6 separate regions of the Homo sapiens genome follow, and all the other regions are linked to region 4. The links are contacts of gene promoters, found by promoter capture Hi-C in blood cells and fetal thymus (Javierre and others, 2016). All regions are on one chromosome and are shown on one strand. The core of a region is centred on a gene start or on the middle of the fragment in contact, and the rest is flanking DNA. Distances in the headings are between cores, read along the strand shown. Region 1 overlaps GOLGA1 (golgin A1). Region 2 overlaps GOLGA1 (golgin A1). Region 3 overlaps SCAI (suppressor of cancer cell invasion). Region 4 holds the start of SCAI (suppressor of cancer cell invasion). Region 5 overlaps GAPVD1 (GTPase activating protein and VPS9 domains 1). Region 6 has its middle 110 kb from the start of GAPVD1.

What was found. The method cuts DNA at HindIII sites, captures the fragments that hold promoters and counts their contacts. A CHiCAGO score of 5 or more calls a contact.
Region 1: a contact is called between a fragment that was not itself captured here and the fragment with the promoter of SCAI in region 4, in 5 of 17 cell types (M0 macrophages, endothelial precursors, M2 macrophages and 2 more). The highest score is 7.2, in M0 macrophages.
Region 2: a fragment that was not itself captured here is called in contact with the fragment with the promoter of SCAI in region 4 in 6 of 17 cell types (megakaryocytes, endothelial precursors, M2 macrophages and 3 more); the score reaches 7.9 in megakaryocytes.
Region 3: a fragment that was not itself captured here is called in contact with the fragment with the promoter of SCAI in region 4 in 8 of 17 cell types (megakaryocytes, total CD8 T cells, naive CD8 T cells and 5 more); the score reaches 7.6 in megakaryocytes.
Region 5: a fragment that was not itself captured here is called in contact with the fragment with the promoter of SCAI in region 4 in 1 of 17 cell types (naive CD4 T cells); the score reaches 5.1 in naive CD4 T cells.
Region 6: a contact is called between a fragment that was not itself captured here and the fragment with the promoter of SCAI in region 4, in 5 of 17 cell types (endothelial precursors, megakaryocytes, M0 macrophages and 2 more). The highest score is 8.2, in endothelial precursors.

What each region holds. Positions count from the first base shown.
Region 1 is chr9:124,914,578-124,919,036 of GRCh38, forward strand. The region is part of intron 10 of GOLGA1 (golgin A1); the gene reads right to left. Among named protein-coding and RNA genes, the nearest start is that of GOLGA1, 24 kb to the right of the region's middle. The HindIII fragment of the contact is 2,889 bases long and covers 133-3,021 here.
Region 2 is chr9:124,890,596-124,894,903 of GRCh38, forward strand. The region is part of intron 15 of GOLGA1 (golgin A1); the gene reads right to left. Among named protein-coding and RNA genes, the nearest start is that of ARPC5L, 31 kb to the left of the region's middle. The HindIII fragment of the contact is 410 bases long and covers 2,619-3,028 here.
Region 3 is chr9:124,971,044-124,975,387 of GRCh38, forward strand. It overlaps SCAI (suppressor of cancer cell invasion), which reads right to left. Exons shown (of 18, transcript NM_001144877.3): 16 at 628-801; 17 at 327-427. Among named protein-coding and RNA genes, the nearest start is that of GOLGA1, 32 kb to the left of the region's middle. RefSeq lists an enhancer at 4,051-4,344. The HindIII fragment of the contact is 2,202 bases long and covers 1,441-3,642 here.
Region 4 is chr9:125,141,833-125,146,309 of GRCh38, forward strand. SCAI (suppressor of cancer cell invasion) reads right to left here and starts at 1,696. Exons shown (of 18, transcript NM_001144877.3): 1 at 1,553-1,696; 2 at 801-845. The coding sequence starts at 1,605. RefSeq lists a silencer at 1,315-1,814. The HindIII fragment of the contact is 9,654 bases long and covers 1-4,477 here.
Region 5 is chr9:125,320,314-125,324,444 of GRCh38, forward strand. It overlaps GAPVD1 (GTPase activating protein and VPS9 domains 1), which reads left to right. Exons shown (of 28, transcript NM_001282680.3): 10 at 1,120-1,249; 11 at 3,485-3,610. Among named protein-coding and RNA genes, the nearest start is that of GAPVD1, 61 kb to the left of the region's middle. The HindIII fragment of the contact is 556 bases long and covers 979-1,534 here.
Region 6 is chr9:125,371,547-125,375,417 of GRCh38, forward strand. No RefSeq gene overlaps it. Among named protein-coding and RNA genes, the nearest start is that of GAPVD1, 110 kb to the left of the region's middle. RefSeq lists an enhancer at 1-32. The HindIII fragment of the contact is 3,508 bases long and covers 131-3,638 here.

The sequences.
Region 1 (4,459 bases), core at 327-2,826, 230 kb before region 4:
GTGACAATGACCAAGACAGTGTGGTAATAGCGTAAAGACAGACATATAGGGTCAAGGGAACGCTGCAAGCACTTCCTATTATGTCTAGTCCTTACAAATGCTCTTTATCACATCCATTTACAAGGAAACTGAAGCTTAGGGACTAGCCCAAAGGCATATACCTATTAGCGATAGATGAAGAATTTAAATCCAGGTCTTCTGGATCCAAAGTCTGCATTTGTTCCCCTACACATCAATCTGAATTCAAGAGGTATAGATGACCCATTCCAGTTAAAACCAAAACAACACATCTTACACAGGTCACTGTGTTAGGCAAAGTTAGGGACAGAAAAAGAATCAGTGGCCAAGTTCCACTTATGCCTCTTGTGCAACATATTGATATGCGATCTCCTTCTCCAGGCTGGCTGATTTACTTCAGGCCCTCTACACCTCATGTGGACTACGGGAACAGTTACCAAGCCATACTCCCTGACATCAAACCTGCCCCTTTCCTAATGATCACCCTCTTCACCTACTCCCTCCCGAGTCTGGGTCTCACAGTTATAGTCCCAGAATATGGACTGCATCAATTCTGGGTGGTGGTCACTTGATTCAGACAGACATGAGTCTGAATCCTGGCTCTGTCATTGACTCCAGCTGTACGGTCTTGACAAATCATTTAGCCTTTGATGTCAGATGCCCATTACTATCACCTGTAAAATAGGAAAACACTGTCTAACCAAAGGGTAGTTGTGAGGACTCGATGAGTCCCTATCTGTAAAGCTCTTGAATACTGAGCTCAGGGTAAATGCTCAGCTATTCTTGTTAAATATTCACTAATGATTATTTATGAAATTTCATGTTCACTATTTAGTCTATACAACTGGCCCTGCATACCTTCCCAGCCTCATCTAGCACCGTTTCCACTTCCTTTCTAAGCGTTAACCACTTGTCTATCCTTTTGGTTCTCCCAACATGCCTTTTTTTCCTTCATTATAAATGTATTTATGGTGCTGAGACCAGTGGCTTATGTTTGTAATCCCAGCACTGTGAGAGGCCGAGGCAGGAGGCTTGCTTAAAGCCAGGAGATCAAAACCAGCCCAGGTAACACAGGGAGATCTTTTCTCTACAAAAGTAAAAAAATTGAAAACAAAAAAGGTTGAGGTTGCAGTGAGCCAACATCGCGCCACTGCACTCCAGCCTGGGCATCAAGAGCAAAACTCTGTCTCAAAAATAAATAAATAGATAGATAAAATAAAATAAATGGCAGGGCGTGGTGGCTCACGTGTGTAATCCTAGCACTTTGGGAGTCCGAGGCAGGCAGATCAAGAGGTCAGGAGTTCAAGACCAGCCTGACCAATATGGTGAAACCCTGTCTCTTCTAAAAATACAAAAATTAGCTGGGCATGGTGGCATGTGCCTATAGTCCCAGCTACTCGGGATGCTGAGGCAGGAGAATCACTTGAACCTGGGAGGTGGAGGCTGCAGTGAGCCAAGATCACACCACTGCACTCCAGCCTGGGCAACAGAGCAAGACTGTATCTCTAAATAAATAAATAAATAAATAAATAAATACATAAATATACTTATTTAAGTAAAAAAAAAAAAGTAAGGTGAATTCCATGAAAATATTGTGTTAAGTACAATACAGGTTAGGAAGAACATAAATTGGGAAGTTGAAAGATAATGGCTACAGTTGAGGAACTGCTATCCAGTAGAGTAAAAAATGTGTAATTCTGAACACTGTGGGTTAAATAAAAACAAAATGAAAAGAATTAAAGTAAAATTTTGTTTCCAAACTGACAGACATCTGGTAAGAATAAACTAGAAAAAAATAGAAAATGCATAAATACTACTATGAATGAAGATAGGGGAGCAACTAAAAAAAGAATATAAGAAATACAATGCCAAAACATTAAACTTATAGCAAATGAACAATTATGTAGAAAAATATAAATTAACAAAACTTAGGAAGAAATACATAAACTTAGAATTACCATTAAGGAAATCTATTCAGTAATTAAAAATCTTCACAAGCCAGGCAAAGTGGCTCATGCCTGTAATCCCAGGACTTTGGGAGGCTGAGGCAGGAGGATTGCTTGTGTCCTGGAATTCAAAACTAGCCTGGGCAACATAGTGAGACCTTAACTATAAAAAAATTTTTTTTTAATTAGCCAGGTGTGGTAGTGTAAGCCTGTAGTCCCAGATATATGGGAGGCTGAAGTAGGAGGATCACTTACACCCAGGAATTTGAGGCTGCAGTGAGCCATGATTGCACCATTGCACTCCAGCCTGGGTGACAGAGTGAGACCCTGACACACAAAAAAAAAAAAAAAAAAAAAAAAACGAAAACAAAAAAAAAACCCACCATCGACAAAAATTAAAATTTTGGTATGTCCCTACTATATTACTATATAATTGAGAAAAAATAAATTATAGCTCCAGGTATCATATGAATGTTTTTCAGGAGTGCAATGTTGAGCACAAAAAGTAAGTTTAGAAAAATACCTACAGAATGATTTATATAACATTAACAAGCATGGGAAACTAAAGAAGATAGTTTAGGGATAAAACTGACAACATTAGAAAGCAAAGTAGACAATGAAGCAATCTCCAAATAGTACTTACTTCCAAAGGAAAAAGGAATGGGATGGAATAGTGAAGGGCACAGAGGGAACCTCAAAGATAAACACATTGTTCTTTTTCTTAACCTGAGGGATAGCTCAGAGGGCTCATTGCCTTATTATACTTTCTATCATACTCATATTTTATAAATATGTTTTTATATATACTCAATAAAGACAAGAAAAAAACAAATTCCAAATTTACAATCTTCACACAATACCAGCCCTTCTTTTGCCCAAGCCAGAAGCCCATAAATCACCCATAAAAATACAGACTTTTCTCTTCCTGTCCTCCCATATCTATTACATTAGTAAGTCTGTCAATCTCTTCAATAGTTCTTACATTTGTCTACCCATTATTATCTTCACCACCACACTTGTCAAAGCCTCCATCATCTTACGGTCGAACAACTGCAAAAGCTTCCTAAGTGGAAGACCCTCTCAGTCTCCTAACGGCCAGAGTAATCTGTTATTCTCTCTTATTCTGTATGTCACTGGCTTTCTTCTAGTTCCTTGAATGTGCTAATCCTTTTATTTGCCTCAGAGTTTTTGTTCATGCTGTTCCCTGCTTGAAATTCTCTCCCATCATCCCTTTCTCTCCAGCCTGAGCACTGTATCGAGTGTTACTTCCTTAAGTGTTCTACGGCTCCAACTGGATCTGATCTGATATATATATATATTTTTTTTTTGAGACGGAGTTTCGCTCTTTTTGCCCAGGCTGGAGTGCAATGGTGCAATCTCGGCTCACTGCAACCTCCACCTCCTGGGTTCAAGCGATTCTCCTGCCTCAGCCTCCCAAGTAGCTGGGATTACAGGTGTGTGCCACCATGCCCAGCTAATTTTGTATTTTTAGTAGAGACAGGGTTTCTCCATGTTGGTCAAGCTGGTCTCGAACTCCCAACCTCAGGTGATCCACCTGCCTCGGCCTCCCAAAGTGCTGGGACTGCAGGCGTAAGCCACCAAGCCCAGCCCTGATCTGATATCTTTTAATAGGATCTCACTAAATCTCGTAGTTTTCTTTCAGAACACTCATCACGGTTAGTAATTATATATGTGATTACTGATTAATGTCTGACTTCCCTTCTAGACTATAAGCACCACAAAGGCAAGAACTGTATCTATTTTGCTCACCATAATATTATGAACACCCAGCACAGAGCCCAGCACATAGTAAAGCTCAACTAATATTTTTAGAATGAATGAAGAAACTTACTGTGACCAAAGTCTGGACTTCCCTGAGCCCCATTTTTCCAATTATAAAAACAACAGATGGTTCTAATTGACATCAAAGGGTCCCTTGACTATCAAAGTTGTGGCCAGGTGCCTGTAATCCCAGCACTTTGAGGGCCGAGGTGGGCAGATCACTTGATGCCAGGAGTTCAAGACCAGCCTGGCCAACATGGTGAAATCCTGTCTCTACTAAAAATACAAAAATTAGCCCGGTTGGTGCCTGTAGTCCCTGCTATTCAGGAGGCTGAGGTGGGAGGATTGCTTGAGCCTAGGAGGTGGAGGTTGCAGTGAGCCAAGATCACGCCATTGCACTCCAGCCTAGGTGACAAAGTGAGACCCTGTCTCAGAAAAAAACAAAATAATACAAAAACCAAAGTTGTGTATCTATTTTCCCCCTTCTTCCATGACCCCAAATGTACTCTCTGACCTTCTGCCTTTTCTGCCTCCTGCTGTCCTCCTGATCCTTGACATTCCAGTTCCTCTAGGAAGATTTCCTTGACTCCTGGGCTGGAATGTACTTCCCCTATGGTATATCTTTTGTATTTGAAAAATCTAGGGCTGAGTGTGGTGGTTCACCTCTGTAATCCCAGCACTTTGGGAGGCTGAGGCGGGTGGATTGCTTGAGC
Region 2 (4,308 bases), core at 1,574-4,073, 250 kb before region 4:
CACTTCCCAGGCTCCCAGCCTGGCCCCTCCCTGCCATGCCCTCAGTATCCCTCTCAGAGCTATCCTGGCAGGCAACCCACCGACTTCTCTGGAAATGGCACACCACTGAGGATCGATTGCCCCACGAGCACCCCCGCCAGGACCCACACCAAGGCTAGGGGCCTATCCTGAAGAGCTGGTCTAAGGACAGTAGCCAAGAACAAGAAGTCAGACTCGCAGGCCACGTGAATGGAGTGGGGGACTGGAACAATTGGTTATGGAAAGAAGAAGAAGTAATGACCAGGGACGGTGGCTCACACCAATAATCCCAGCACTTCAGGAGGCTGAGGTGGGAGGATCGCTTGAACCCAGGAGTTCAAGGCCATCCTGGGTAACACAGTGAGGATCTGTCTCTATAAACAATAAGAAAAATTAGCCGAGCATGGTGTCACATGCCTGTAGTGCCAGCTACTCAGGAGGCCGAGGCGAGAGGATTGCTTGTGTCCGGGAGGTCAAGGCTGCAGGAAAATGGATTCCTTCAAGCATCAGCTAGTGAGGGGCTAGGCTGACAAGACAGAACTGAGTCTCTGTGGCTCCAAAGTCTGCCCTAGCGCCTCAGAGCCACCTAAGATCCAGCACTGTGGGAGGTGGGGTTGACAGTGCCTGCTCAGGTTCACTGTGGCACAAAGCAGGGCCTGCAGCTTGCAGAAGCCACCAGGCCACCCATGCACGGCTGCCTCTGCGATGATTCTCCAGGATGGGCTTAGGGAACAGCTGCTTTGAAGAGCGTGGATGGAGAAAAACAATTCTAAATGTATGTGCACCTAATAGCAGCACTTCAAAATACATGAAGCAAAGACAGACAGAACTAAAGGAAGAAAGAGACAAATCTACCATCGTAGTGGAAGACTGAGCACACCCTTCTTAGTAGCTGATGGAACAAGTAGACTGTTAAACTAAATATGGCCTTGATCTGTCTCACCCAGAGCTTAGCGATTTTATTCACCTTCAAATAATCCACCTCAGGCTTCAGCAGTCCTCGCTACTATGAGAGGGTCCCATTCTTTTGTTTTTTTTTTTCTTTTTTGAGATGGAGCTTCTCTCTTGTTTCCCAGGCTGGAGTGCAATGGCGCAATCTCAGCTCACTGCAACCTCTGCCTCCTGGGTTCAGACGATTCTCCTGCCTCCCCCTCCCGAGTAGCTGGGACTACAGGCATGTGCCACCACACCCAGCTAATTTTTGTATTTTTAGTAGAGACCGGGTTTCGCCATGTTGGCCAGGCTGGTCTCAAACTCCTGACCTTAGGTGATCTACCTGCCTTGGCCTCCCAAAATGCTGGGATTACTGGTTTGAGCCACTGCGCCCAGCCTCCCTCCCTCCCTTCTTCACTTCATTCCTGAGACAGTTTCATTTTTGTTGCCCAGGCTGGAGTGCAATGGCACGATCTCAGCTCACTGCAATCTCTGACTCCCGGGTTCAAACAATTCTCCTGCCTCAGCCTCCCAGGTAGCTGGGATTACAGGCATGTGCCACTATGCCCAGCTAATTTTTGTATTTTTAGTAGAGATGGACTTTCACCATGTTGGTCAGGCTGGTCTTGAATTCCTGACCTCATGTGATCCATCCGCTTTGGCCTCCCAAAGTGCTGGGATTACAGGGGTGAGCCACCACGCCGGGCCCATTTTATTTTCTATTTCATTAATTTCTGTGCTTATATTTGTTATTTCTTCCTTGAGTTTGATTTGTGCCTTCTTCTGACTTTTTGAGATGCATACATGGCTCAATTTTCAGGCTTTCTTCCTAAGAGATGCCACTGAGACTGAAATTTCCTTCCATGCACTGCTTTAGTTATACTTGACCAATTTTGATCCACAGTATTTACAAAATCATTTATTTCAAAATATTATAATTATTTTTTTGAGACAGAGTTTTGCTCTTGTCACCCAGGCTGGAGTGCAATGGCACAATCTCAGCTCACTGTGTGAGCCACTGTGCCCAACTTTATTTCAAAATATTTTAAAATTTCCATTGTGATTTTTTTCTTTGACCTATGGGTTATTTGAAAGTGTATTTCAGGCTGGGCATGGTGGCTCACGCCTGTAATCCCAGCACTTTGGGAGGCAAAAGTGGACGGATCACCTGAGGTTGAGAGTTCGAGACCAGCCTGACCAACATGGAGAAACCCCATCTCTACTGAAAACACAAAATTAGCCTAGTGTGGTGGTGCATGCCTGTGATCCCAGCTACTCAGGAGGCTAAGGCAGGAGAATCGCTTGAACCCAGGAGGCGGAGGTTGCAGTGAGCCGAGATCACGCCATTGCACTCCAGCCTGGGCAACAGGAGAGAAATTCCATCTCAAAAAAAAAAAAAAAGAAAGTGTATTTCTTAAATGTAAACATATAAGAGTTTTCTATATGTTTACATTTAAATTTTTATGTTTTTGGAAATGGGTTCTTGCTCTATCACCCAGGCTGCAGTCCAGTTTGTGATGATAGCTCACTGCAGCCTCGACCTTCTAGGCTCAAGAGAGCGTCCTGCCCCAGTCTCCTGAGTAGCTGGGACTACAGGTGTATGCCTTGATGAACTGTGATGAAACCATCACCCTAATAAAAATAGTAAAAATACCCATCCCCCAGAAAGCTTCCTCCTGTCCTTTTGTAATTTATTGTATTAATTTCAGTTATTCTATTTTTCAGGTCTAAAGTTCTATTTGATTCCTTTTTTAAAACTGCTGTCTTTTATCATAACTATAATAATAGAACTATTCCACATCTTGCTGAAATTTTAAATTTTGTCTTTTATCTCCTTAAACATAGTAAGCATATGATATCTGAGCCCTTGTGAGTCTGTTTCTTTTGTGTTGTTTTGTATTTTTGTTTACCTATCTTTGATTTTGTTTTTTCTAGTCACCCAGGAGCACTAATAACCTGGGATCATTTTAATCCAAAATTAGCTAATGGGCTTTTCCTGGGCCACCCCGTGTCCTTCAGTTAGTGCAATCAAAGCTGGGGGCGGGGTGCAGATGGGGTGCTGGTTACTTCCCGTTCAAGCTTACTCCTAGCGTGTAGTCCTGTGGTGTGCCTAACCAAAGCTTTCAGGATCTCCCAGGCTGGATCCAAGCTTTAATAAAATTTAAACTCCAAATTTTATTCCCCTAACTCTGAGAAACTATGAAAAACTTAGATAAACTTCCAGCCTCTTCAGGATCAGCAGATACCACCACGGCAAAAGCTGCTTTGCATGCTGGACTCCCGTCCCTGGGCAGGATGGGCCATTCCTCAGTCCTGTAGGCTCCTACAAGCAGATGTTCTCTTATTTTGGCCAGTTTTTCTGGGAGTCCTCAGGTGAGCTGGTCTGAATTACCTAGTTTGCCTTTACTGCAAGTGGAAGCATCTCTCTAGTCTCATTTTAACCTGCTCTCGTCAACCATATTCCCTACGACTCTACGGTGACTATTCTTCCCAGCGTTGCCAACAAACTCAGTCTCGTCAAATCTAATGGTCAGCTCTTTGTCTCCTTTCTTGACCAGTTGGCAGCATATCACAGAGTTCACTACTCAATCCTTCTTGTAGCGCTTTCTGCCCTGTACTTCCAGAGCCCCACATGCACCTGCTTTTACTGCTACCCTACCTGCGGCTCCTTTGGCGTCTTCTCTGTCGGCCCCTCCTTTTGTTCTGAGCCTGTGCTTGTGGGTGTGGCCCTGGCCTTCATTTTGGCCTCTTTTCTATCTGCACTCATTGATAGCCATTTGGCTGTAATTTTGCCTATGAGCTATGCTGATTGATGGTTTCCTAATTTAAAGTTTTGTGTGTGTGTGTGTGTGTGTGTGTGTGTGTGTTTGAAATAGGTTCTTGCTCTGTCATCCAGGCTGGAGTGCAGTGGTACGATCTTGCACACTGCAAGCTCCGCCTCCTGGGCTCCCAAGCAGCTGGAACTATAGGCACACAGGCTTCCTAATTTATATGTCTACTCAGAATCTGCTCCAATTTTCCAGACTTGTCAGCCTACAGACTACTAGATATGCCTGTTGGGTAGGCCTCTGAAGCTCAACATGCCCAAAATGGAATCCACTCTTGACATACCTCCCAGGACCCCCATCTCAGTGAATGGTACGTACCCTATTCATTCAGTTACCCCAGTGGTTCTCTGCCAGCAGTGCTTTTGCCCCCACAAGACATTTGGCAATGTCTGGAGACACTGTGGTTGTCCTAAGTGGGGCTGCTACTGACATCTAGTGGGTAGATGCTCCTAAGCATCTTATCATGCATATTTGCAGCAAATACAACAAAGAACTTCCACAACAGAGAACCTCCACAACAGAGACCCAT
Region 3 (4,344 bases), core at 1,292-3,791, 170 kb before region 4:
ACCTCAAGTGTTCCACCAGCTTCGACCTCCCAAAGTGCTGAGATTACAGGCGGGAGCCACCACGGCCAGCCAGAAAATGTTCTACTTTTAAACAAACGATAGGTACTCAAATGTGCCTTAATATTGTTAATCTTTATACTTTACGTATTCAAATGTATTTTTTTACTTAGCAGACCAGTGTGACGGTACATTTGTAAATATTATTTTGAATTTATCCAAAATAATATTATTTTATTATAACCTTATTTTATACAGGTAAAATATAATACATGGTTCTTAAATACCTAAAATGATAAAATTCGTCTTTAATAATGTTCTTTGCCTACCCGAAAAATCTTGTGCATCCTCATGGTGGCTGAACAAAAGATAAATCTTGTGAGGAGCAAGCGAAGAAATTCATCTCCAAAAAACTGGAGAAATGCCTGATCTGCAAAGAGGAGAAAAGTGACAGTAAAAAGATGCTTAAATGGAAATTATGTTTCAAAGGGGAAGGAAACTTCAGGAAAGCGTTCTCAACTTTCCTGCCTGGGACACATACCTTTAAAAATTCAAACAATTTAAAATAAGTAACCATTTTAAGCCATTATAGTACATTCTGTTAAACGTGCAGTTAGATTAGGAGGGTACCTATTGAACGTGAATGAGTCAGTAGCTGGGCAATATCACGGTTGATTTTTCGAAGATATTCTTGACACTTTTCCCATAGGCCTCTGCGCATGCTTGACAATCCAGAGACAAATAGGAAGGCCATTAGAGGATTGTTCAAAAAGAGAGTGAAGAGGCTACCTCGCTGAGATTGATCTGTAATAACAAACATGTTATATATATAGACAATAGTTTTGCAAAAGATAAGAGATACATATGAGGAACATTTTAATATACTGATAATATATAAAATTAAAGCTATCTCATTAAATCATAATTCATCAAAGCAGATTCTTCACGAAACTACAAAAACTTTGCTATGTTGCTTTCTGCTGAACAAACTTCAGAAAGAGCCTAGAAAACTTAAGAGAAATGGAAAATGATATTTCTTACTATTTTTTGCTCTCAATTAACAAATTTCATCCAAATATGGCAAGTGTTGGATTATGGGTTATCTTGATAGAATTCTCTGATGAGTGCTACAAACGCCAGTCTTTTTCATTCTCTTCTGAGTTGCTCTCTATGAGCTGCTCTTTCCCTTCCTATCTCTTAAATATGAGTAGTTTCTTTCTTTGGCCCCATACATTGCTGACTGCTCTCACTCCCATGATTTTAGTTACCATTTATATGCCTACAAATTTCTAATTCTCTATCAGCAGCCTAAATTGAATTCCTTAGGTCTGGCACTGCTCTGTCTTGCGGTAGATACTGGACACTAAAAACGTGACTAGATGAGTAAAATACTGGACACTAAAAATGTGACTAGATGAGTAAAATGTGACTAGATGATTTCAAAGCTTTAGTACAAAATGTCATTGTTAACACTAATTTCACCTGTTTCTTTTTACTGTTTTTGATATAGGTAATAGAAAATTTAATGACTCACACTCTTACTTCTTTTAAGTACTGCTGCTCTAGGCTACTCTATTCAACCTAATTCTCAAAGGCACCTCAAACTCAACATGTCAACAACTCAAAGCAAATTATTTCCCCTTTTGTTCTCTACAAATATGCTTCTCATCAGGTATTATCATTTCTACCAGCATCTCAGCCAGAAACCTGGAAGTCTATTCCTGCCTTCCCTCCCCACACCTAGTCCATCACAAAGTCCTGTTGGTTCTATGGTTCTATGGGCTTAGTATCTTTGCAGCTGGCTACTAGTCATTGTGCTATCTCCAGCCATCTCCCTATTTTCATCCATGCCCCTCCCAAGTTCATTCTCTAGGACATTAACTGAATGCTCTTTCATGCTACTCTCCTGTTTAAATCTTTTGATGGTACAAGTTGAGTATCCCTTATCCAAAATGCTTGGGGCCACAAGTGTTTGGATTTTGGGTTTTTTGGGATTTGCAATATTTGCATATACATAATGAGATGTCCTGGGGACAGGTCCCAAGTCTAAACACGAAGTTTATTAATGTTTCATATGTACCGTATACACATAACCTAAAGGTAACTTTACATAATATTTTAAATAATTTTGTACATGAAACAAACCTTGTGCTAAGTACTGATATGTGGAATTTTTCACTTTCAGTATCGTGTTGATACTCAAACTTTTGAATTTTGGAGCATTTCAGATTTTAGGACTAAGAATGCTCAACCTGTACCCCATTGTCTTCCACTTAAATTACTTAACAAATCTTAGAAATTCTTTCACAATTCAATCACACAATCTCAAACTCTACCCTTTAGCTAGAAGGAATGACTAATTTCTCTATGTGCTTGGCCAGGTGTGGTGGCTCACGCCTGTAATCCCAGCACTTTGGGAGGCCAAGGTGGGTGGATCACTTGAGGTCAAGTGTTCAAGGCCAGCCTGGCCAACATGGCAAAACCCTGTCTCTAGTGAAAATACAAAATTAGGCCAGGCACGGTGGCTCACGCCTGTAATCCCAGCACTTTTGGAGGCGGAGGCGGGCAGATCACGAGGTCAGGAGTTTGAGACCAGCCTGGCCAACATTTTTAGTCTCTCATAAAAATACAAAAAAATTAGCTGGGAGTGGTGGCGAGCGCCTGTAATCCCAGCTTCTCGGGACGCTGAGGCAAGGAGAATCGCTTGAACTTGGGAGGCAGAGGTTGTAGTGAGCTGAGACTGCGCCACTGCATCTAGCCTGGGCGACAGTGCAAGACTCCATCTCAAAAAAATACAATAAAATAAATTTCTCTACATGCTCCCTAAGCTGTCTTATCTCATGGCCACAGCACATGCAAATTCTCAGCTGGAACACTCTTGCTCGGTCATTTCCCACCCCCATCTAGTTCTCCATGTTCTTAACGTCCACGTTAGACATTATCTCATCCCCTTCCCTCGTCTTCATTGTGCTGCTAGTCAGGAGTTCCTCGTCCATTTGCAGGCATCCTCTTGTGAATCACTTATAATAACCGCCCATCAGGCTCTGTCTATCTGCCACAAGACATTTGGCTCTGTGAAGAATGTAACTGTGCTTGTCAGGTCATAGTGCTATCTCCAGTGCCCAGCACAGTACCTGATAATAAATGTTGAATAGCACTTTGGGAGGCCAAGGCAGGCAGATCTCTTGAGCCCAGGAGTTTGAGACCAGCCTAGGCAACATGGTGAGACCCAGTCCCTACAAAAAAAAAATACAAAAATTAGCTGGGTGTGGTAGTGTATACCTGTGGTCCCAGCTACTTGAGAGGCTGAAGTGGGAGGATCACCTGAGCCCAGGAGGTAGAGGCTGAAGTGAGCTATGATCACACAACTGTACTCCAGCCTGAGTGACAGAGTGAGACCCCATCTCAAAAAAAAAAAAAAAAAAATTGAATAAATGAAGTAACTCTTGGCTAATGAGAAAACTATAGGCTTTAGATCTCAGAAGTGCTTACTGATCAGCTAGTTTTGCACCCACATGGAAGGCTCTCCCCTTTTGCAGAGGTGAGTAGCAATTATGCCTATGGATAAATCCAAAACATTTCTCACAGAAGAATTTTGAATCTGCTTTTGTAACTGAACAATTAATTTAAGGTGTTAGAGGTCTAAGCTTTGTAGCATGAAGATAGGAAACCGGATAAAATGTGTGAAGGACATGTATTACAACTAAGCATAATAATAATAATGACAGCACATATTGAGTAGTTACTACATACCCAGCATTATTCTATGAGGTAGATACTATTATTATTTCCATTTGATAGATGAAGAAACTGAGGCACAGAATGGCTGAATAATTTCCCAAGGTCACACAGCAAGTAAGTGGCTGAGTCGGGATTCAAATTCAGTCAGTTTGCCTCCAAAGTCTGTTTTTCTCCTCTATACAATGAAGTCTTTCAGACCGAATAATCTTGGTATTAACCTATTTGACCATGTAAATTTAAATAAAACTACATAATGATAGGACAGATTGATAGCAAAAAGTACTGCTCAGTAACTGAAAGAGATTACATTCCTCCAGAAATGATAAGAAACAGGATAACAAAATCTTCAAAGCAGGAGAATTTTACCGTTGTTTGAAGGTAAGTTCTATCCCTTAGTAATTTTACTTTTGGATACATGAAGTTAATATTTCTACATGTTTTTCCCTGTTAAACAGCAGAACTTACCTTAAAACAACGGTGAAAGCCTCCAGCTTCTCTCAGGCATTCAAATGCTGACCATCACTTCCTGTGTCAAACTATGTCAGCAGACAGGACTTCTGGCTGGGAAGTAGCAGTAAAATGCCATCTCCCACAGAGAGACATCAG
Region 4 (4,477 bases), core at 446-2,945:
ACATATTCTCTTAGGGTTCTTTGAGGATTACAGGAGAAGATACACATAGAGCATTCGTACACAGTACTTGGCACATAGTAGATGCTCAATAAAATTAGTTTATTTTTTGAGGCAGGGTCTTGCTGTGTTCCCCACACTGGAGTGCAGTGGCATGATCACGGCTCACTGCATCACTGCAGCCTTGACTTCCTGGGCTCAAGCAATCCTCCCACCTCAGCCTCTTGAGAAGCTGGGACTACAGGTCCACAACACCCGCTCAGCTAGTTGGTTTTTGTTTTTTTAATTTTTTGTTTTTGTGGGTACATAGTAGGTGTATATATTTATGGGACCGGCTAGTTTTTCAATTTTTTGTAGAGACGGAGTCTTGCTCTGTTGCCCAGACTGGTCTTGAACTCCCAGGCTCAAATGATCCTCCTGCCTCAGCCTCCCAAAGAGCTGGGATTGAAGGCATGAGCCACCCCAGCCAAGATGAGCTTTTTAAACAGAGATGCTGGAGAAAATGAAATTATGGCTAAGGTTAAAAAAAAAAATAGCTGAGATCCTTACACAACATCAAAAAGTAAAAAAGTAGGATTTCTCAAGATTTCCCACATTATCTTAGATACCAAGAAAAAAAAAATCGACTGTAGAGGTAGTAATTTGAAGTCCTCAAAAGAAAAATCATGCATGTGGTTATATTCTTTTAAAAGGGGGATAAATAAGAAACTTCATCTACTGACAGTATACAATTATGCAGTACGGCACAGGTGCAGCCAAGCAAAAAGAAAAACATGAAGCAAAATAGGAAGGCACTGCCTTACCTGCTTCTCCGTTTTCGAGGCGGTTTCTCCACTGTGCCAGTCAGTCTGCAGACCAAACAAATAAGACGGTAACTAAAAGTAACATACAAGAAAACATCTCCCGGCGCTACCGTGCCAGTCAAGAACTAAATAGACCACCCTCTGGGACCACAGGCTCGCCAAGCCCAGATCTGACCTTACAAACGCCTCATGCCCTGTTTCCCCTATTTACCAAGACCTAGCATTCCTGGGACTCACCGTTCCCCCAATTCCCCCTGAGCTCAAACCTTCCTGGTCCCTCACCCCATCCTCGACCCCTGCTCGTCACAGCCCAGCTCCCCAAAATCACCCACCTCCACCTACTCATTGTCTGCCTCGTCACCCCCGCAAGCCCCCCTAGCCTCCCCTTTCCTGTGCCCACCCGTTCCCGACCGTGCACTGCCCCCTCCACGCCCCGCCTCTCCGGGCCCGGCGACCCCCGCATTCCACGGCCCCTCCGGGGGCGCGCCCGCCTTGCCCCTCCCGGCCCCGCGCCGCCAGCCTCACCCCTCGGCGCCCCTTCCCTCACACGCCCCTCTCACCTGGCCTCGAGGAGGCGATCGCGCCCAGCCCGCGCCGCCGCCTGCAGGCGCCCCCAAGGTCCCCCCAGCCTGCACCCCCCGCCCCTCCGGTCTCTGCGCCCCGAATGCTCCACCGCCCCGAGCCGCTGCCCCTGGGCCCGCTCCCTGGCCCCCACCCCATCCCCAACCCCGGCCTCCACCCAGCCCCCGCACCTGGGGGCCAGGCGACTCCGCGGCTGCTGGGGCTGCCGGGCTCCTCTGACCATCCGGCTCCTGCTCCGCCGCGGGAGCTGCTCCGGCGGCCGCAGGGCTCGCTCGGGAAGCTGAGGCGGCGGAGGCTGGAGTAGGCGGAGAGGCGGGAGGAGGGCCTCGCGCCTCTGCCAGGCTTGCCGCGGGGCCCGCCTCCTCCGCGCCTCTCCTCGGCTCCCATTGGCTAGAGCAGTAGTGTGGACGGAAATCTGTCAGTCGATTGGACGCTCGGCCCGTCACATCCCGCGCTGCCCACCCAGAGGTTTGGTTGAGACTGCAGGTGGCGGCGGAGGTGCCTTAGAGATTGCTAGCAGGGCCGGAGGAGACCCTAGCGCCACCATGCGTCTAAAAGTAGGAACTGCACCCCCGGCTCCAGACACCTGCCCCAGGTTCTCCTGGCTCTGCGTCCTGCATACCACACACCTGCTGGCGCCCCTCCACCTCTGCACCACGCCAGGACCGAAAACAAGCCCTGAAATCTCCCAATTTCTTCTAGCAGGTGAGACAGTGAGGCAACTCTCACAAACGTGTTTCCTTTTAAGCCACCTCGAATGCGATCCTTGTCCCTACATCTTGCTGAAATTGTCTCACAGCTCACAGCTACCCCTCAAAAAGGACCCAGCCAGAAAACTCTAAGAATCCACCAAAATAAAGCATGGTTTGGATGCTCAATCCTCTGCAGAAAAGCTCACTAGCTTGGGTGCAGGCTTTTAAGAAAGTAAGATTTTTTTTTAATTACCATGAAAGAAAAATCAGCACTACAAACAGAACCAATGCCATACTAAAAGCAACGTGTTCCATTTTGAAAGGCCTGGACAAATTTGATCCCTGAATGGAAGCTGACCATCCTGATTGTGTGACCATTGCAAGTTCTACACCAATTAATCAATTTTAAAATAAATTGTACTGTATTTTTTGACAAACAGGCATGCAAAACTGCCTTTCATAAGCATAGTTACCCTTCTTCTGCTTTAACAAAGCCATCCTTGAAAATAAGACTCAGCTCATTAACGTATTATAAAATTCTTGAAGGTGGGAAGGCCTCTCTAAATCTCTACTCCTGTGTGAACTTGTTTGGTATATTCTCAGCATCTGTTCAGAGTTGGGAGGAGGCATAAAACTTTCTCTTAAGTCACTTCCATTTTATTAGAACATCTTTTATGCCTCAATAATATGACAGCGTCGAGTAGTACATGTCAACATTGGGGTGGGGAAAATCTCTCATTGATCTCCATAAGCGGCAAAAATTAGGATACTAGTTTTTCACAAAACCAAATGTATTTGGTGTAAAGAGTTGTCTTTTCTTCTGAGATGGTCCTACCTACATCTTTAATGGTAAAATGACTTTCCATTTATGAAGTAATACTGACGGTAAATTGTAGTAGGAATTGAAAAATTGCTTTGAAAAAATGTCAAATCTCTGTTGGTCCCCCAAATTAGTATTTCACGTAATCCTAAAGTCACAGAACCACAAATCACCTCAATCTCAACTAACAGTTTCCACCCATATTATCAAGCCAGAGAGAGGAAAGAACTCGAGAATAATTTGTGTCAGACGAAGGGGGATCATCAACTCACTAGGGAAGTAATCTTGAAATACATTTATTATATTCCTTATTAAAAATCCATTGCCTGCTTTTTAGCATCTTCCATAATTGACCAATCCTCACTGATATATGGCAGATATTGTCAATAAAACAGGACCTATTCATTTCTTACGCCTTCCCAAAAAGGATCCTCGAGTCTTCACATTGTGTCCAAGTGATCTCTGCTTATTTTAACTCTGTAAGACATACAAATCCCATCATTCCAGTCCACACTTAATTCACACTTCCTCTTTATCTTCCCCAATTACTCCATCCTACATCAAACATTTCCTTGTCCAGATGTGTTGTACTTACAAAATCTACACTATGTTAGCAATTATACATTGCCTTGGATTATTCTTCCCAACTACAATGAATTTGAACAAATGGCCTATGAGTATGAGCCCTTAATAAAAGGCAGCTTTGGACCAGATACTGGGTGCTTTGTGTGTGCTATTTTTAATAGTGAGATTAACCCTGCCTGATATTCTCTTATTTTAGACACAGAAACTTAAGATTCAGAAAATTCAATCTGTTCAGGGTCACACAACTACAATAACCAATATTGCTTAAAATAGAGCGCTAAAGAAATACTCTGGTGTGCCCTCTAGGGATTCAAGTTCCAGCTCTCTTGTGCAACGTTAGACAAGTCACCTATCCTCTCTAAGCCTATTTCCTCATCTAGGGGGAGAAAAGTTCTAGAGAAGGATGAACAAGATTTATTAATTTTTTTGAAGTTTGGGCTGGGCACAGTAGCTTATGCTTGTAATCCCAGTGCTTTGGAAGGCCGAGATAGGAGGATCTCTTCAGCCGGGAGTTCAAGACTAGCCCGGGCAACATAGGGAGACCCCATCTCTACCAAGAAAAAAAAAAAATAAAAGGTAATATAGTCATAGACCCATACAGCAAGGGCATCACAAAATAGAGAACATAACAATTTAGCACATATGCTGTATACAGGTTAGTTGCTATTACTGCATGACAGAGCTGGGGTTTTCACCCAGATCTGATCCCAAAGCCTGTGCTATTCCATAATGCCTCCATGCAGTCTTTTATAACCCACCATTTATATACAAAAGCACAGTGCTGCTGAGCATAGTGGGTGCCTAGGGATTGAGTGGAATATACTTATGTAGTATTTTTGTTGACAACACAAATCTATAAATGTCATGCATTTTTGAATTAAGAAAACATTTGAATGATCTAAGCCAGCATAAGCCTACTCTCATGAGGGCACAAATTCACCAATAAATTGATACGGAAATAGAAAACAGGAGGGGAATGCAGAACCAACCTTCCCCAA
Region 5 (4,131 bases), core at 7-2,506, 180 kb after region 4:
GGCTTGTAGGGAGTAGTGAGATGTAGTTATGTTATTTGGAAGTCATCTGGCAAATGGAAAGCATATAAAAAGGCCATCAGTCTAAGCTGGAGATGTCTGTGAAGTCATACTTTAGTTTCTGGTGTGGACTTTTGTGGCCCTGTATGTATGTTGTGATCAAGTGGACGTTCAGACTAGATGGATTAAATCTTGATGCCTACAAAATAACATGATTACACGTTTTCTTCTAGTTGAATTTATTTACTTTTATTTACTTTAAATTTTATTTAAATTTTGCAAATTTAGTATGTTTAAAAATTTTATTTATTGATTTTTTATTTTTATTTTTTTGAGATGGAGTCTCACTGTATCGCCCAGGCTAGAGTGCAGTGGCGCGATCTCGGCTCACTGCAAGCTCCGCCTCCCAGGTTCACGCCATTCTTCTGCCTCAGCCTCCCGAGTAGCTGGGACTACAGGCACCCACCACCAAGCCCGGCTAATTTTTTTTGTAGTTTAGTAGAGATGGGGTTTCACCATGTTAGCCAGCATGGTCTCGATCTCCTGACCTCGTGATCTGCCTGCCCTGGCCTCCCAAAGTGCTGAGATTACAGGCGTGATCCTCTGCGCCCAGCCTTGTTGATTTACTTTCTTTAAATTTTGCAAATTTAATACGTGACATGACAACTGTTTTATGTGCATCTTTTTACTTAATTCTCAACAATTACATGGCATACATACTGTTACTGTCACCATTTTATAGATGAAGAAACTGAGGCTTAGAGAATTTCAATAACTTGCCTATCCAAGGTTACATAGTTGACACATGACAGAATTAGAAGGACCAGCGTGCTGACACCAAAGACTTCTGATTTGTATAATTCTCACCACTACTCATCTGGTAGTCTGGTTGCCTGTTCTATCTGTAACACTCGTAGGGTAATGGAAAGGCATGGCTTCAGCTGCTTTAATTTATATACTTTTATTCCACAGGTATTTAAAAGCTTGACAGACCTTCTAAATAGGTTTGTAGTTAAAAATTGATAATTTAAGATTAAGGAGTTAAATATGCATTTGCTGTGGTTTGTTTCCTTATCAGTAATCTTTCCATTGATAAACCAAAATTGACATTTTATTTTTTAGGTCCTAAACATGCAGCTTTCGGATGGAGGACAAGGAGATGTCCCTGTTGATGAAAACAAACTCCATGGTAAACCTGATAAAACCTTGCGCTTTTCCCTCTGCAGTGATAATCTGGAAGGAATATCTGAAGGTGAAGGGTTACTTCATTCAAGGAGTTGTGTGGTTCAATTAATAGTTTGTTTTGTGTTTTTTAAAGGAGCTTATAAATTATAATTATACCATCTGTGCTTCTCACTGAGGAGACTAATGAAGATTTCCTCTAATGAGCCTGAACAGTTGGCTGTAAAGATTGTTTCCTGAATAAAATTAAAATTGCAAGATGCCTTTGGTCATATAAAATGGAGAAGATATGTCTTTATTCAGACTTAAATAGAATAACAGCAAGTTCTGTTTCTGCAGTATTAATATATACCAAAGCTTATAGAGCTCCTTTAGAAGGATATCATGCATGTCGAAACGGGAAAAAATGGACTTACTAGTATTTCAATATGTTGCACATACTCTTAAATGTTCTGTATTCCTTTACTCACACTCACACATACCTTTATGAAGCAGAAGACAATGGAAATAGGTATTAAAAAGAAAATTCAAAGCCAAGATTGTGAAATGAGAATATGTCATTTTGCCTACTAGTACCAATTTTTTTTTTTTGAGACAGAGTCTCGTTCGTTGCCCAGGCTGGAGTGCAGTGTCGCAATCTCGGCTCACTGCAAGCTCCGCCTCCCGGGTTCACGCCATTCTCCTGCCTCAGCCTCCTGCATAGTTGGGACTACAGGCACCCGCCACCACGCCTGGCTAATTTTTTGTATTTTTAGTAGAGACGGGGTTTCACCGTGTTAGCCAGGATGGTCTCGATCTCCTGACCTCGTGATCCGCCCACCTCAGCCTCCCAAAGTGCTGGGATTACAGGCGTGAGCCACCGCGCCTGGCCCCGGGTTTTTTTTTATTTAAAGACAATAGTTCAAATTTACTGACATTTAAAAAGAAACCTAAAATATAATAACTTCATATTTTAATCTGACTTTTCCAAAAAAATGACATGTAATGTATGTTCATTCTACAAAACAGAGAAATAGAATCACCTATAATCTCAAAATTTTGTTGATAGCAGTTGACGTTTTAGATTATTCACAGCAAAATTAGGTTTATCCTGTTTTGTAACCTTTTGTAATTTAATAATATGGCATTAACATTTCCCTTTGTAATTTAACATTCTTAAATAACATGGTTTTTATGGCTGTTTTCCTTAACCTCACATGGCATATCATAATTTTTTTCAACTTTCTTCTGTGATTAAATCTATAGATTTCTTCCACTTTTTGGACATAATAACTTCTGGGCTGGGCGAAGTGGCTCATGCCTCTAATCCCAGCACTTTGGGATGCCGAGGTGGGTGGATTCACTGAGCTCAGGAGTTTGAGACCAGCCTGGGCAACACGGTGAAACCCCATCTCTACTAAAATACAACAAATTAGCTGGGTGTGGCAGCGTGTGCCTGTAGTCCCAGCTACTCGGGAGACTGAGGCAGGAGAATTGCTTGAACCAGGGAGGCGGAGGTTGCAGTGAGCCAAGATGGTGCCACTGCATTCCAGCTTGGACGATAGAGCGAGACTCTCTCTAAAAAAAAAAAAAAAAAAGAAGAAAAAGCTCTATAACAAGCAACTTTAGATTAATTATTATTATTATTTTTTGAGATGGAGTCTCACTTTTGTTGCCCAGGCTGGAGTGCAATGATGCGATCTCAGCTCACTGCAACCTTTGCCTCCCGGGTTCAAGCAATTCCCCTGCCTCAGCCTCCTAAGTAGCTGAGATTACAGGCATGTGCCATCAGGCCGGCTAATTTTTATATTTTTTGTTTTGTTTTGTTGTGTTGTGTTTTGTTTTGTTTTTTGAGATGGAGTCTCGCTCTGTCGCCCAGGCTGGAGTGCAGTGGCGCGATCTCGGCCCACTGCAAGCTCTGCCTCCCGGGTTCACGCCATTCTCCTGCCTCAGCCTCCTGAGTAGCTGGTACTACAGGTGCCCGCCACCACGCCTGGCTAAATTTTTATATTTTTAGTAGAGGCTGGGTTTCACCATGTTAGCCAGGATGGTCTCGATCTCCTGACCTCATGATCCACCCACCTCAGCCTCCCAAAGTACTGGGATTACAGGCATGAGGCATTGCACCCAGCAGATTAATTTGTTATTAGCACCTTAGGATAAATTCCTAGAAGCAGAATTTCTCAAAGGGCATGTGTTTTTTTAAGGTATAAAAAGTATTAAAAACACTTTAATCAGTTGTTAGTCTTTTATCAAGGCATGAAAAATTGTGTGGTGGCTCATGACTGTTTTAAAAAGATTGCTCACACTATAAACATTTCTCTAGGTCCTTCAAATCGCTCCAATTCAGTGTCCTCCCTAGACCTAGAAGGAGAGTCTGTGTCAGAACTTGGAGCAGGACCTTCTGGCAGTAATGGAGTTGAAGCTCTACAGCTGTTAGAACATGAGCAAGGTAAAGTGAAGTTGAACACAGTTGCCTAAGTAGCAAAGAATTTACCTGATTGCAAGATGAGCAGTGTGTTTTCATTAAGTTGGCTTGGTTCAGTAAGAGATTAAATCACCATTAAACTTAACATTTATTCATCATTCCTTCAGTTCTTCAAAATCTATTTAGTTGGTAAGTGGATTGTTTAGGCTTAATAAATTAATATAAATTACTTGAAATTCAGTAATATTTGATATTTTAATTATGTAATATTTTAGGGATACAATGTAAATACTCAAGGCTCAAGGAACTTAGAATAGGGAAAGAATAGTACACAATTGATTTAAAGTATCATGAAAGTATTTGGCAGTTCTGAGTGAGAGATACATATGGTTGAAAGTATAGGGAAAGCTGCTGGGCCCGGTGGCTCACACCTGTAATCCCAGCACTTTGGGTGGCTGAGGCGGGTGGATCACCTGAGGTCGGGAGTTCAAGACCAGCCTGACCAACATGGAGAAAGCCCGTCTCTACTGAAAATACAAAATTAG
Region 6 (3,871 bases), core at 635-3,134, 230 kb after region 4:
TATTTTTAGTAGAGATGGGGGTTTCACCATGTTGGCCAGGCTGGTCTCGAACTCCTGACCTCAGGTGATCTGCCCGCCTTGGCCTCCCAAAGTGCTAGGATTACAGGCATGAGCCATTGTGCCTGGCCCAAGCTTCTTTTTAACCTGGTATATTGTGGGTGAGGAGACAGGCCAGGGAATCCTGGAAAGGTGCCTCCTCTGACACCGGTCAGCAGGGCAGTTGCCAGGGAGGGCCTGCGCTGGACTTGCCAGGAGCACAAGGACCACCTGTGCACAGGGCAGACACTCAGAGCCCTTTTTGGTGGTTGTTACTATTTATCTTTTTTTTTTTTTTTTTTAGACAGGGTCTTGCTCTATCACCCAGGCTGGAGTGCAGTGGTAAGATCATGGCTCACTGCAGCCTCGACCTCCCAGGCTCAAGTGATCCTCCCACCCCAGCCTCCTGAGTAGCTGGGACTACAGGTGCATGCCGCCACGCCTGGCTAATTTTTTTGTATTTTTTATAGGTGGGGTCTCGCTATATTGCCTAAGCTGGTCTTCAACTCCTGGGCTTAAGCTATCCTCCTGCCTCAGCCTCCAAAAGTGCTGAGATTACCGGTGTGAGCTACCGCGCCTGGACATTATTAATCTTTTATTGTTATAATAGCTTAATGGGAGAAGAAAAGATTGTGGTCTATGCATGTATGAAAATTAAGAAGATCATGTTGTAGATTGATTTGCAGGATTTTTTAAAGGCGCCCTGCCTTTTTTCCTCAGCGGGGTTCTTGAGCATCCATCGGTGATCGGTGGTCGCTTCTCGCAAATCTTCTGTTTCATTTATTTTGGTTGCTAAGTAGGGAGATCCACCTTTATCTGGGTGATTCAAAATCACGATTCTCCTGTGAGCTGCTCTAATCTTAGCCTTGCCAGCAGGTGAACTTACACCTAAAATAACACTAGCTTTTCTCCTACTCATTTTCTGTTCAAATCCTCCTTTGTAATAGGATGACAGGCTAGGAGTTCAAAGGTTCTCTACTGCTTCTGTGATCCTTGTTCTAGAGGTTTCCAGGACTGCGACGCACAGCGACCTGCAAAGGCAAGAGCAGCAGCACCCAGCCCTGCAGCTGTCACAGTTCTTGCCAGTCCCTGCTGGTTGGTATCTGCGTCTGACTGAGGCATTTGGCCAAGGGCGGCAAGTACTCAGTGGGGTGCAGCCCCTTGATGGCAGGGGTGATGCCACCATGGACAGCCAAGAGAACCCATTTTTTTATTTTATTCTAGATTCAGGAGGTACCTGTGCTTGTTTGTTACATGGGTATTACATGCATAATGATGGGGTTGGGTTCCTAGCCTACCCATCACCCAAATATTGGACACTGTACCCAGGAGGCAGTTTATCAACTAACAGGCTGGGTTGTGAGCTCAAGTCCCTTTCCACTGTGGTCATAAACAGTAACCACAGTGGAGTGATTCCTGACACATGATGCCTTTCTGGGTCCAGATACTTTCATCCCTATGTGCCCCACCCTACACGCCTCTTTGTCACTCATGCCTGCCGCTGCCCAGCCTTCTTCCCTGGCCCAGGCTCTGGATTGCCCAAACCTCCTGAGGGGCCCTTGGCAAATGTCTCTTTTGTGTTGTGCGTGTGTGTGTGGCAGGGTCTCACTTTGTCGCCCAGGCTGGAGTGCAGTGGCACAATCTCGGCTCACTGCAACCTCTGCCTCTTGGGTTCAAGCGATTCTCCTGCCTCAGCCTCCTGAGAAGCTGGGACTACAGGTACACGCCACCATGCCTGGCTAATTTTTGTGCTTTTGGTAGAGACAGTGTTTCACCATGTTGGCCAGGCTGGTCTCGAACTCCTGACCTCAAGTGATCTACCCGCCTTGGCTTCCCAAAGTGCTGGGATTACAGGTGTGAGCCACCGCGCCTGGCTGGGAAATGTCTCTTAAACCTGTCCCCCGCTGCCACAGCCAGTTTTTCCACCTCCACAATCACGACTGACTCCTAGTCTCCCTGCCTCCCTCTCACCCCTTCTCCTAGGTGCCCTTAGAATTCATCAAGTCTGGCCAGGCACGGTAGCTCACACCTGTAATCCCAGAAATTTGGGAAGCCGAGGTGGGTGGATCACCTGAGGTCAGGAATTCGAGACCAGCCTGACCAACATGGAGAAACCCCGTATCTACTAAAAATACAAAATTAGCTGGGCGTGTTGGTGAATGCCTATAATCCCAGCTACTCGAGAGGCTGAGGCAGGAGAATCACTTGAACCCGGGAGGCGTAGGTTGCAGTGAGCCAAGATCACGCCATTGCACTCCAGCCCGGGCAACAAGAGCAAAACTCCACCTCAAAAACAAACAAACAAAAAAATTCATCAAGTCTGAGCAGATTCCTCTTCTGCCTAAAATCTTCTCTTTTCTACCTGGGTTCTGTCCTGCCTTTTCAGCCACATGCCTCTGGTCCTTCTCCTTCCCCTCCAGCCAGCCCCACTCCAGCCACTGAGAACTATCACCTTTCCCAAAGTGCTGCCCTTTGCCGGCCTCTAAGCCTTTGCTGATGCCCAGATCTGACTGCCTCCCCCACAGTCCTTCCTCCTGCCTCAGATGGCCCTTCTGGAGGAAAACCCCAGGTGCCCCCTCCTGCCTCCCTCCTCAGTGAGGCCTCACCCCCATCCCTCCCTCTCCAGAGCAGTGTCTCCCTGGAGCCTGTGCTCCTAGGGGAGGGCATGCCTCCAAATGGCAGGTGTCCCTAATGTTTGCAGATGGGGATGGATGAGAGGCAGAAAGTAGCCCTTCAGGGCGGGGATTCCACCATCTTTTCCTTCCAAATTCAGGCCCTGCTGGGACAGGAACTATCCCTGTCGTGGTCCAGGGCCAGGTAGTTCTTCACGTCCTCTGGGAAGACAGAGTGCCCCAAAGCCCTTGATCTCCAGTGGGTAGAATTAGGTGGGGCAGAGGCTGTGCCACACCAGGTCACACCTCTCCTGTGTCTGCTCCCACCCCACCAAGCACAGGGCCGGGATGAGGATGCCTGGAGCCCAGCTCAGTGCCTGCCTGGGTTGCAGCCCTGATCACACCAAAGTGTCTTGTCTGTTTGCAGCCCTTTATCTGGCTAGCAGGGTTTAATTTTACTCTGGGAAGGTGGGATTTTTGTCCCTATTTACTTATTATTTTCGAATTTATTATCTTTAGGTGGCATCTACAAATCGGCGTCCTCTGAGGGCAACAGCGCCCCGTTCTGCTAGAAATCCCGAGATTTGCAGCCACTGCAGCACGCTGCCTCTGCGGCTTCTCCGCACCATCCCCGACCCCTTCCCCCGCGAGTCTGCCGTCGGCCAGTTTCCTCCCAGGCCCCGGCTTTGCTGTTCCTTGGGTGACATCTTGTGGCCAAGGACAGGTACAAACCATTGGCTGAAAAGGAGGAGCAAAGGCAGCCCTCAGCCCTCTCTGGAGGAGCCTTGGGGCGCCTTCGAGGATGCCCAGGAGGGCAGGGGGCTCCTGAACAGGGAATCGGCTCTCAGACCCCGAATGGGCTTGCACCAAGCCCTTCATGAGACAGCTGTGGCTGGAGCCCAGAATTCACCCAGGCCCCCCGAGGCAGACACACCAGGTTCCTCTCTGCCCACCCTGCGTTGTGGCAAATAATCATTATTCCCGATATAAAGCTTTTCTCTAGCAGCCCAACGACAAGGTTATTATTCCAATCTTACAGATGCAGCAACAGCCCTGAGCCACAGCCAGTGACCTGAGCCCAGCCCACAGGTGCCAACACTGTAAGATCTCACTGGACACAGTCCTGAGAACTGTGGGAGCCACCTGTCCCATTCTCTGGGAAGGTGCTCTGGGGAGGCGCCTGTGTTGTTAGTCATGGCCATGCCTCGAGTTCCAAAACCTTC